2 separate regions of the Homo sapiens genome follow, and region 2 is linked to region 1. Evidence: promoter capture Hi-C in 16 types of primary human blood cells and fetal thymus (Javierre and others, 2016). All regions are on one chromosome and are shown on one strand. The core of a region is centred on a gene start or on the middle of the fragment in contact, and the rest is flanking DNA. Distances in the headings are between cores, read along the strand shown. Region 1 holds the start of GINS4 (GINS complex subunit 4). Region 2 overlaps IDO2 (indoleamine 2,3-dioxygenase 2).

Region 1 (4,233 bases), core at 944-3,443:
TGGAAAGGGGCAGTTAGAGCAAGAGGATAAGGATACTTACTATGAACAGCTCACATCTAGTGAGTGCTTATCATGTGTCAGATAGCATGCTGAGTGCTTTACACAATTACCACATTTAATCAAAAACTCCAGGACATAGACACTATTATCATCTCAATTTTATTTTATTATTTTTTTGAGACGGAGTTTCACTCTTGTTGCCCAGGCTGGAGTGCAATGGTGGGTAGGATCTTGGCTCACCACAACCTCTGCCTCCCAGGTTCAGGTGATCCTCCGGCCTTAGCCTCCCGAGTAGCTGGGATTACAGGCATGCGCCACCACATCCGGCTAATTTTTGTTTTTTAGTAGAGACGGGATTTTACCATGTTGGTAAGGCTGGTCTCGAACTCCTGGACCTCAGGTGATCCGCCCACCTCAGCCTCCCAAAGTGCTGGCATTACAGGCTTGAGCCACCGTGCCCGGCCCTATTGTCTCAATTTTATAGGCAAGCAACGGCTTGAGACAAACTCCCTAACTTGCTCAAGATCACATAACAGAGGAGTGTCACAGACAGATTTAAATCCAGATAGTCTGAACTCCTGTTACCAGAGCATCATGAGATATAAGTGTAAAGAACACAGTTACTGGCACATGGGAAATATGCAGTAAGTCATAGCTATTACAACTTAAAGGAGAAATATTTCAGAAAGGATTTTAGATAAGCAGTGGACATATGGAGAGCAGACGACTCAAGAAAAAACATGTGAGAAAAAGGAAAAATATGACCAGTTTTCCCTTACAGGCATTTCAGCATTTTCTTGCTAAACAGGCATTCTCCAGGGAAACAGCAGATGTTCAAGGGACTAAGGTAAAGAAGTTCAGGGACCTCTACAGTCCCTGAAAATATCACGTGGATCCTTGCTCTGTGAACTGTTCACTGAATGTGCCCAAAGCTGTCCCTTACTGACCCCACTTGGGGATGCTGTGTTTGATATGATGAGGTCTCTAACAGAGGATGTCCTTCTTGCTTCCCGTTTCCATGTAGATGGTAAGATCCAGTCCCTGTTCTAAAGTAAGCCCCAAATTCCGTTTCCTCATCTTGTGATCCCTGATATTCACAGTTGAACTAAATAAAAAGGCTGACTGGAGCAAAGGGATTCGATCTGGGATGCTTACCTGCTCCAATCTTTCAATGAGCTCTGCAGGAGTTAGGACCACTTCCTCACTACCCCCATCAGAGTCCTGTCCCAGGAAATCCACTTCTTCGGTCATCTTCTCTGAAACCAGGAACCTAATGAGAGGGAAAGAACCAATACTCTGCAATGCGTTTTCTAATTATCTGCAAGAACAGACATCTATCTGGAGAAAGGAAAGGTTTATTGAGGTTTCCTGGGGTTGTAGAGGCCCTTTAGCAAGTGGTGAGAGAACGCAGGGACTCTAGTTTTCCAGTGTCTGCCTCTTCCTCCAAGGCTTAGGTCAGGTATCCGTTTCTCAAACAAGCCTCCCCCTTACTTCTGTCCACCAAGAGCTGAGCACCCATCACACCATACAATCACTATTCATTTCTTTGACTTCCCAGTAGAGGTCTTGTTCCTCAGGGACGGGGTTCGTTTTAGTTCAAATACGAATCGCGCCTCTGCTCAGTGCCTGGCACTAAGCACTGGGGACGCAATGACGTGGGAAGCCCCTGCGCTCAGCACAGCGCTTGACTCCTAGCAAGCACTTAACATTATTAGGAGCTGGCCGGGCTCACGCCTGTAATCCCAGCACTTTGGGAAGCCGAGGCAGGAAGATACCTTGAGCCCAGGAGTTCGAGACCAGCCTGGGCAACATAGGGAGATCCTGTCTCTATAAAAACAAAAATTGTTAGGAAGATTAATCAATGCTAATTTCCCAGAGCCACAAGGGCCGGCGACATTAGACCAGTCGGCGATCCCAAAGGCCTAAGGAGGTGGATGGCGGGGACAAAGAAAGTCCCTGGGGTCGCAAGGAAACTGCGAACATCCCCCTCCCCTCCTCCCTCTCAGTGCCACCCACACAGGCCTGCCCTAGCCACAGAGGTCCCATTCGACGCTCACTCGGGGACCTGGGAGACAGCGAGGCACTCCACAGCAGCCGGCGGTAAGGACGGGGCGTTCGTGGGGACGCAGTCGGGGCACCAGGAAGCGGGAAGACAGAGGAACAAACTGCTCAAGGACTTGCCGGGACCAACTCAACCCTGCAACTTCTCAGCTCCCGCGCTACTCTCGCAAAGTTTCCGCCCAGGCACGACGTCATCGCGCAAGGGCGACGCTGACCAATCAAGGCCCGGGGGGAAGAGCGGGGCGGTCTCCTTGGGCCCGCCCACCCGGCGGGCGGGGACTGTCTTCGCGGCGGCCTGCAGTCCCAGCAACCCAAGGACTTGAGGCGGCGGGAGGCTGGTCCGGGTTGGCCCCGCCCACCTGGGGGCCGGCCGCTCCGCTGTGCGGTCCGGGTTGCACTACCCAAGAGCGTCGGGAGGGGGCGCCCGCCACCGCGGCCAAGGGGAGCGGCGGTGTCCGCCCCGGGGGGTCCCACCCAGAAGTATGCTGTTGAAAGCAGGCCGCTGCAGCCTCCTGGGCCGTCTCCACCCACAGCTCTCGTGGCTCTTTGGGTTCCTCCGTCTTTGCGGGGTTTCACCTGTGGTCAGTGTGGTCATTGCCTTCAGAATCTCCAGTATATTCCTTTTCATCTTTCTTGAGACAGGGTCTCGTTCTGGTGCCCAGGCTGGAGTGCAGTGGCACCACCACAGCTCACTGCAACCTCCGCCTCCCGGGCTCCAGCGATCCTCCCACCTCAGCCTCCGGAGTAGCTGGGACCACAGGCCAGCGCCACCACGCCCAGTTATTTTTTAATTAAAAAAAAAAAAAAAAAGAACTGTGGCGGGGTTGGGGGTGGGGAGGTTCTCCCTATGATGGCCAGGCTGGTCTCGAACTCAAGGATCCAAGCAATCCTCCCACCTCGGCCTCACAAAGTGGGTACTGGTTCTTGAAGCCTGGGATCGGACGACCAGCAGAAGCATCGCCTGGGAATCCGTGAAAATGCAGGTTCTCAGGCCCCACCCTGGCCCACCGAATCAGAAACTGGGGGTATTTCACCAGACCCAGGCCCTCCCGGTGACCCTGACACAGCTGAGGTTTGAGAATCACTGCTTTGGGGCCGGGCGCGGTGGCTCACGCCTGTAATCCCAGCACTTTGGGAGGCCGAGGTGGGCGGATCACGAGGTCAGGAGATCGAGACCATCCTGGCTAACATGGTGAAACCCCGTCTCTACTAAAAATACAAAAAAATTAGCCGGGCGTGGTGGCGGGCGCCTGTAGTCCCAGCTACTCGGGAGGCTGAGGCGGGAGAATGGCGTGAACCCGGGAGGCGGAGCCTGCAGTGAGCCAAGATGGCGTCACTGCACTCCAGCCTGGGAGACAGAGCCAGACTCCATCTCAAAAAAAAGAAAAAAAAAGAAAAAAGAAAAGAGAATCACTGCTTTGGGGCAATGCTTTCAACTCACCTTCTGGAGGGGAAAAGCACAAAAACCCATGTCTGTATATGTATATATTTTTTCCATCTTTGTGTGATCCAGTTTTTCTTCTCTGAGTTGCTGATTCTTTTCTCTTTGCTGTCCTTTGTTTTCTGTGCAAAGCGTTGCTTCTGGCTTCCCTAAAAGTATCTCTTCTCCATCAATCTGAGGGCTCTTTGCAAAGCTGCCCTATGATGTCATATTGATTGACTAGTAAAATGATTGGCTAATATAGTATGATCGTACCTGCCTGATTACAATCCTGTTATGAAAATGACAATAGAATAAGCCGAGTGAGAGAGTAGGCATCTTTACAAAGCGCTGTGTAAGCTGGGGCATATCAGCACGGGATTCCCAAAAGGAAGGGACATTTGAGCTGTGTCTTATGAAATGAATTTTGTGAGTGGCAAATAGGTGGTTATTTCAAGGTCTGTTTCAACGGTTTGGTAATCCAGTGGTTTTTGGTTGTGGCAGAGTGTGTTTCCCAAACATAGCTGCTCTAATATGGATCTCACCCCACATACCCTTCTTACCATGTGACATTGACACTCCTCCATCAAGAGGTGGGGTCTATGTTCTCACCTTCTATTTATTTATTTAGAGACAGGGCCTCACTCTGTCGCGCAGCCTGGAGTGCAGTGGGGCGGTCACGGCTCATTGCACCCTTGACCTTCCTGGGCTCAGGTGATCCTCCCACTTCAGCCCCCATGAGTAGCTGGGAC
Region 2 (4,233 bases), core at 1,064-3,563, 1.5 Mb after region 1:
TGGGCAACAGAGCAAGACTCCATCTCAAAAAAAAAAGAAGAAGAAGAAGAAGAAGAAGAGGAAGAAGAAGAAGGAGAAGGAGAAGGAGAAGGAGAAGGAGAAGGAGAAGGAGAAGGAGAAGGAGAAGAAGAAGAAGAAGAAGAAGGAAGAAGAGGAGGAGGAGGAGGAGAAGAAGAAGAAGAATAATAAGAATAATTTTATAGGCTGATGGTAAGTGTCCTCATTTTGCCTTTTAATTGAAATGTTAAGGTTCCTATTATACCATCAGGCATCATTGTGTGTACAGACCTTTTGCATGAGTGAGTGAATGGCTGGAGAAGCGAGCGAGGGCTATGAACAGTGTGAATAGAGGCCGTCAACTAGTAGTGTGCTCTTGATCTTTGCAGTAAACTAAGCTTAGATAATATAACATCATATAGTTTTTTAGTATTTACTTTGGTTGTTTCTTTTTTAAAGTGAGGAGTTGTATTTTCCCAATTATTCTTTTGGTGTTAATTAATCTGAAGGTTTTTTTTAAATGGTTAATATTAAAAATTGCTATTATGCAGTCTGCCTAAAAGGAAGTTTGAGTAAATGTCATTTCTGAAGGATACTCCAGTTTATAAGGTAGGAACAATTTCCCAGATTCAGGCTGAACCGTAGGAACAATTTCCCAGATTCAGGCTGAACCGAGACATTTACTCTGCCAGAAGGACCCACTGGGGCATATTTGGGCTAATCGGAGTTTAGTAACTTCCTCACTTTCTAACCCTATTTAAAAAATAATCAGTCCAGGCGCGGTGGCTCATGCCTGTAATCCCAGCACTTTGGGAGGCTGAGGTGGGCAGATCACCTAAGGTCAGGAGTTCGAGACCAGCCTGACCAACATGGAGAAAGCCCGTCTCTACTAAAAATACAAAATCAGCCGGGTGTGGTGGCACACGCCTATAATCCCAGCTACTAGGGAGGCTGAGGCAGAAGAATCACTTAAACCTGGGACGCAGAGGTTGTGGTGAACCGAGATGGCGCCATCGCACCCCAGCCTGGGCAACAAGAGCGAAACTCCATCTCAAAAAAAAAAAAGAAAGAAAGAAAAAGAAACAATCTTCATTATAGAAAATTCAAATTGAAAAGAAGGAGGGAAGAAATTAAGCAAAATCAACTATCATCCTCTGTGTTGAAATAATCAACGTAAATATTTTAATAAATACCATTTGTCCTTTTATTTTGCTAAATATGTATATTTTTATTAAAATGCACTCATATTATGCAAGTTATGTAGCCTGCTTTTTTCACTTAACAATATATTGTGAACATCTTTTATTTATTTATTTTTTTGGGGACAGAGTCTCACTCTGTCGCCCAGGCTGGAGTGCAGTGGCAGGATCTAGGCTCACTGCAACTTCCATCTCCCAGGTTCAAGTGATTCTCCTGCCTCAGCCTCCTGAGTAGCTGGGATTGCAGGCATGTGCCACCATGCCCAGCTAATTTTTGTGTTTTTACTAGAGATGGGGTTTCACCACGTTGGCTACCCTGCCCTCGGACTGACCTCATGTGATCCACCCGCCTCTTCCTCTCAGTGTGCTGGGATTACAGGCTTCAGCCACCAGGTCTGGCCTGTGAACATCTTTTCTAGGTCAAAAAGAAAAATAAAGAGATGTTTGTATGATTTTATTATCATATAGAATTTATTAAAGAAGAATCTCAGTGTTAATTACTTTCCAATTGAGTTTAGACAAAATAAGTTCACAGGCTGAGATGGAAAATTCCTTCCATGAAATCAAGTGAACTAATGAGAAAGGAACAGTAGCAGAAGTTCACACTACAGCTTAGCCCCAATTTACTCAAAAAGAAACCTGATTTAAATGCATACACTAAATGGTTAGGAAGAAACCCTTCGACTCCTCATTACTGCTAAAAGAAAAAATTCTTAACGCTGCCAATGCGCCGATGGGTCAAGCAAAAGCTGGAAATTCTGTTAATTTGGAAGTAAATAAAGGCAAACATTTCCATGGCTTTTTGGGGAGAAAAATATCCTTCACCTTTTCCAAGAAGAACATTACTTCCTAGAGAACAGGGGCGATCAGTAAGCATGCCAAAAAAAGAAGAAAAAAAAAAACACATGTCTTAATAATCTCAACACTTGAAAGTCTGAAAATAGTTTAACCTTCCAATGAGTCAGAAAGCTCAGATCTGGCTGAGTCGCTGGAAAGCAGCTCCAAAGAAGGACTGGATGCAGACACGCACGGTTGACAGGCGGCAGGCAGTGGCAGACTGACATAGATATGGTTATGTTTCCAGTACCGTGTGGACTTCTGCCTTATGGGGGCAGATTATGAAAATAGACCGGGCTGGTTCTGTCTTCCACTCAGAAGTGAGCGCTTTACAAAACTGAGAAAAGCTGGGCAAAGGACTAGTGACTCAGGTACCAGGAGGGTGGCTCTCCAAAACGCCACTGCAGTCTGCAACAGGCATTTTCTACTCAGCCCTGAGTGTGAAGGGCTCTACGTGCCTGGAAAGGAAGTATTTATGGATGAAGGGATTAGAGCTCATGACTCTTGCTAAAGCTGGGCTCTGAAAGAAGCAATTGTTTGGTACGCTCCATTTTGGGGAATGGAAGCAGAGGGAAAAAGTCCAGCCAAGCTCTATTTATCACGCAGAAGAAAGTTTATCATTACAAACCAGAGACAATGACTGGAGCATTCAGGTGATTCCTTAAATCTTGCAGTTTCTAGTGTTTGTTACTATTTTTATAACTTTATTTCTTGTGGTTACTATTGCTGCATAGAAACCACTCCAAACATAGAGGTGTGAAAAAACCACTATATTCTGTTGATGGGGAATCTGGGCAGAACAAGATGGCAATGGCTTGACTCTGCTCCACAGTGGCTGGTGCCTCAGTTGGGAAGACTTCAAGACAGGACATAAGTTGGGATGGGAGCCTAGAACCATCTGAGGGCACCTTCACTCCTGGGCAGAAGCCAACTGGAGAACCCACATGGCTCTTTGATGTGGTTTGCCTGTGTCGTTTGCACAGCAGAGTGATCTCAGGGTAGGTGGACTTTTTACCTAGTGGCTCAGGACACAAGGTTAAACCTGCATCACCTCTTCTAGTCTTGCCTCAGAAGTCTGTGCTATCCCCTATACTACATTCTATTGGCAACACGTACATCACAAGTAGGGGCACAGAGTCCACCCCTGGTCGAAAGGAATGCCCAGGCCACGCTGTGGAGGAGCGCGCAGGATGGCATGGGGCCATCTTTAGAAAACACAGTCCAATCCATTCAGCTATTTGTCCATATAGATGAATGTGACTAGGAGTAAAACACTGAAACGAAATTATGTCTGTGTGGGAAAATGTGCCTTTTGAGAAAACAAGGGCGGTAGCCCTGGGACCTCCTTAGACGATGAGACCTCCTGCAGAAGCTGAGCAGGAGAACACAGCAGGTTGGCCTGGGCCTAAAAAGTGAGTCTGAGCTGGGCGCAGTGGCTCACGGCTGTAATCCCAGCACTTTGGGAGGCCAAGGTAGGCAGATCACCTGAGGTCAGGAGTTCGAGACCAGCCTGGCCAACATGGCGAAACCCCATCTCTACTAAAAATACAAAAATTAGCTGGGCATGGTGGTGCATGCCTATAATCCCAGCTACTAGGGAGACTGAGGCAAGAGAATCGCTTGAACCCGGGAGGCAGAGCTTGCAGTGAGCCAAGATCGTGCCACTGCACTCCAGCCTGAGTGACAGAGTGAGACTCCATCTCACAAAAAAAAAAAAAAAAAAAAAGAAGTGAGTCTGAAAGTGAGCCCTAGGAAAGCCTGTGACAGTTAGACACTGCATGCACCATCTTACTGCTATGTACACTGGGACCTGTTGGAAGGTTTCTCATAATCTTCCAAAATTGCTTCCTTTTGCTCATCCATGTGATCTGAAGACACCTGCACTATCTCCCTAATAGCCTTGCTATCCTAAGTGATGGACTCAGGCTTTCTTGGCAAAGCTAAAACACATCTCATCTCATTTCAGCTTGGCAAAGCCACCATACAACTTAAGGGAGCTGTTTGGCAGAAGACCTACTGATGTGATCATGAGGGCTTTAAAATTAAAATTCAAGGAAATAGAGAAAATACAAATATAAACTATAAAACCAGGAAGTGGATAATACCTAATCCTGTGACTTCAGATAGATTTCTACTAGTGCTGAGAGGCTGGGATGACAAATTATATTTACTTTTTTAATACAAGATAATAAAGCTTGGC

The links. Contacts are between HindIII fragments. The CHiCAGO score rates a contact against its expected background, and 5 or more counts as called.
Region 2: a fragment that was not itself captured here is called in contact with the fragment with the promoter of GINS4 in region 1 in 1 of 17 cell types (neutrophils); the score reaches 6.1 in neutrophils.

Annotation. Positions count from the first base shown.
Region 1 is chr8:41,527,221-41,531,453 of GRCh38, reverse strand. GINS4 (GINS complex subunit 4) reads right to left here and starts at 2,193. Exons shown (of 8, transcript NM_032336.3): 1 at 2,058-2,193; 2 at 1,156-1,270. The coding sequence starts at 1,251. RefSeq lists a silencer at 2,218-2,647. The HindIII fragment of the contact is 13,395 bases long and covers 1-4,233 here.
Region 2 is chr8:39,991,092-39,995,324 of GRCh38, reverse strand. The region is part of intron 8 of IDO2 (indoleamine 2,3-dioxygenase 2); the gene reads right to left. Among named protein-coding and RNA genes, the nearest start is that of IDO2, 59 kb to the right of the region's middle. The HindIII fragment of the contact is 3,832 bases long and covers 398-4,229 here.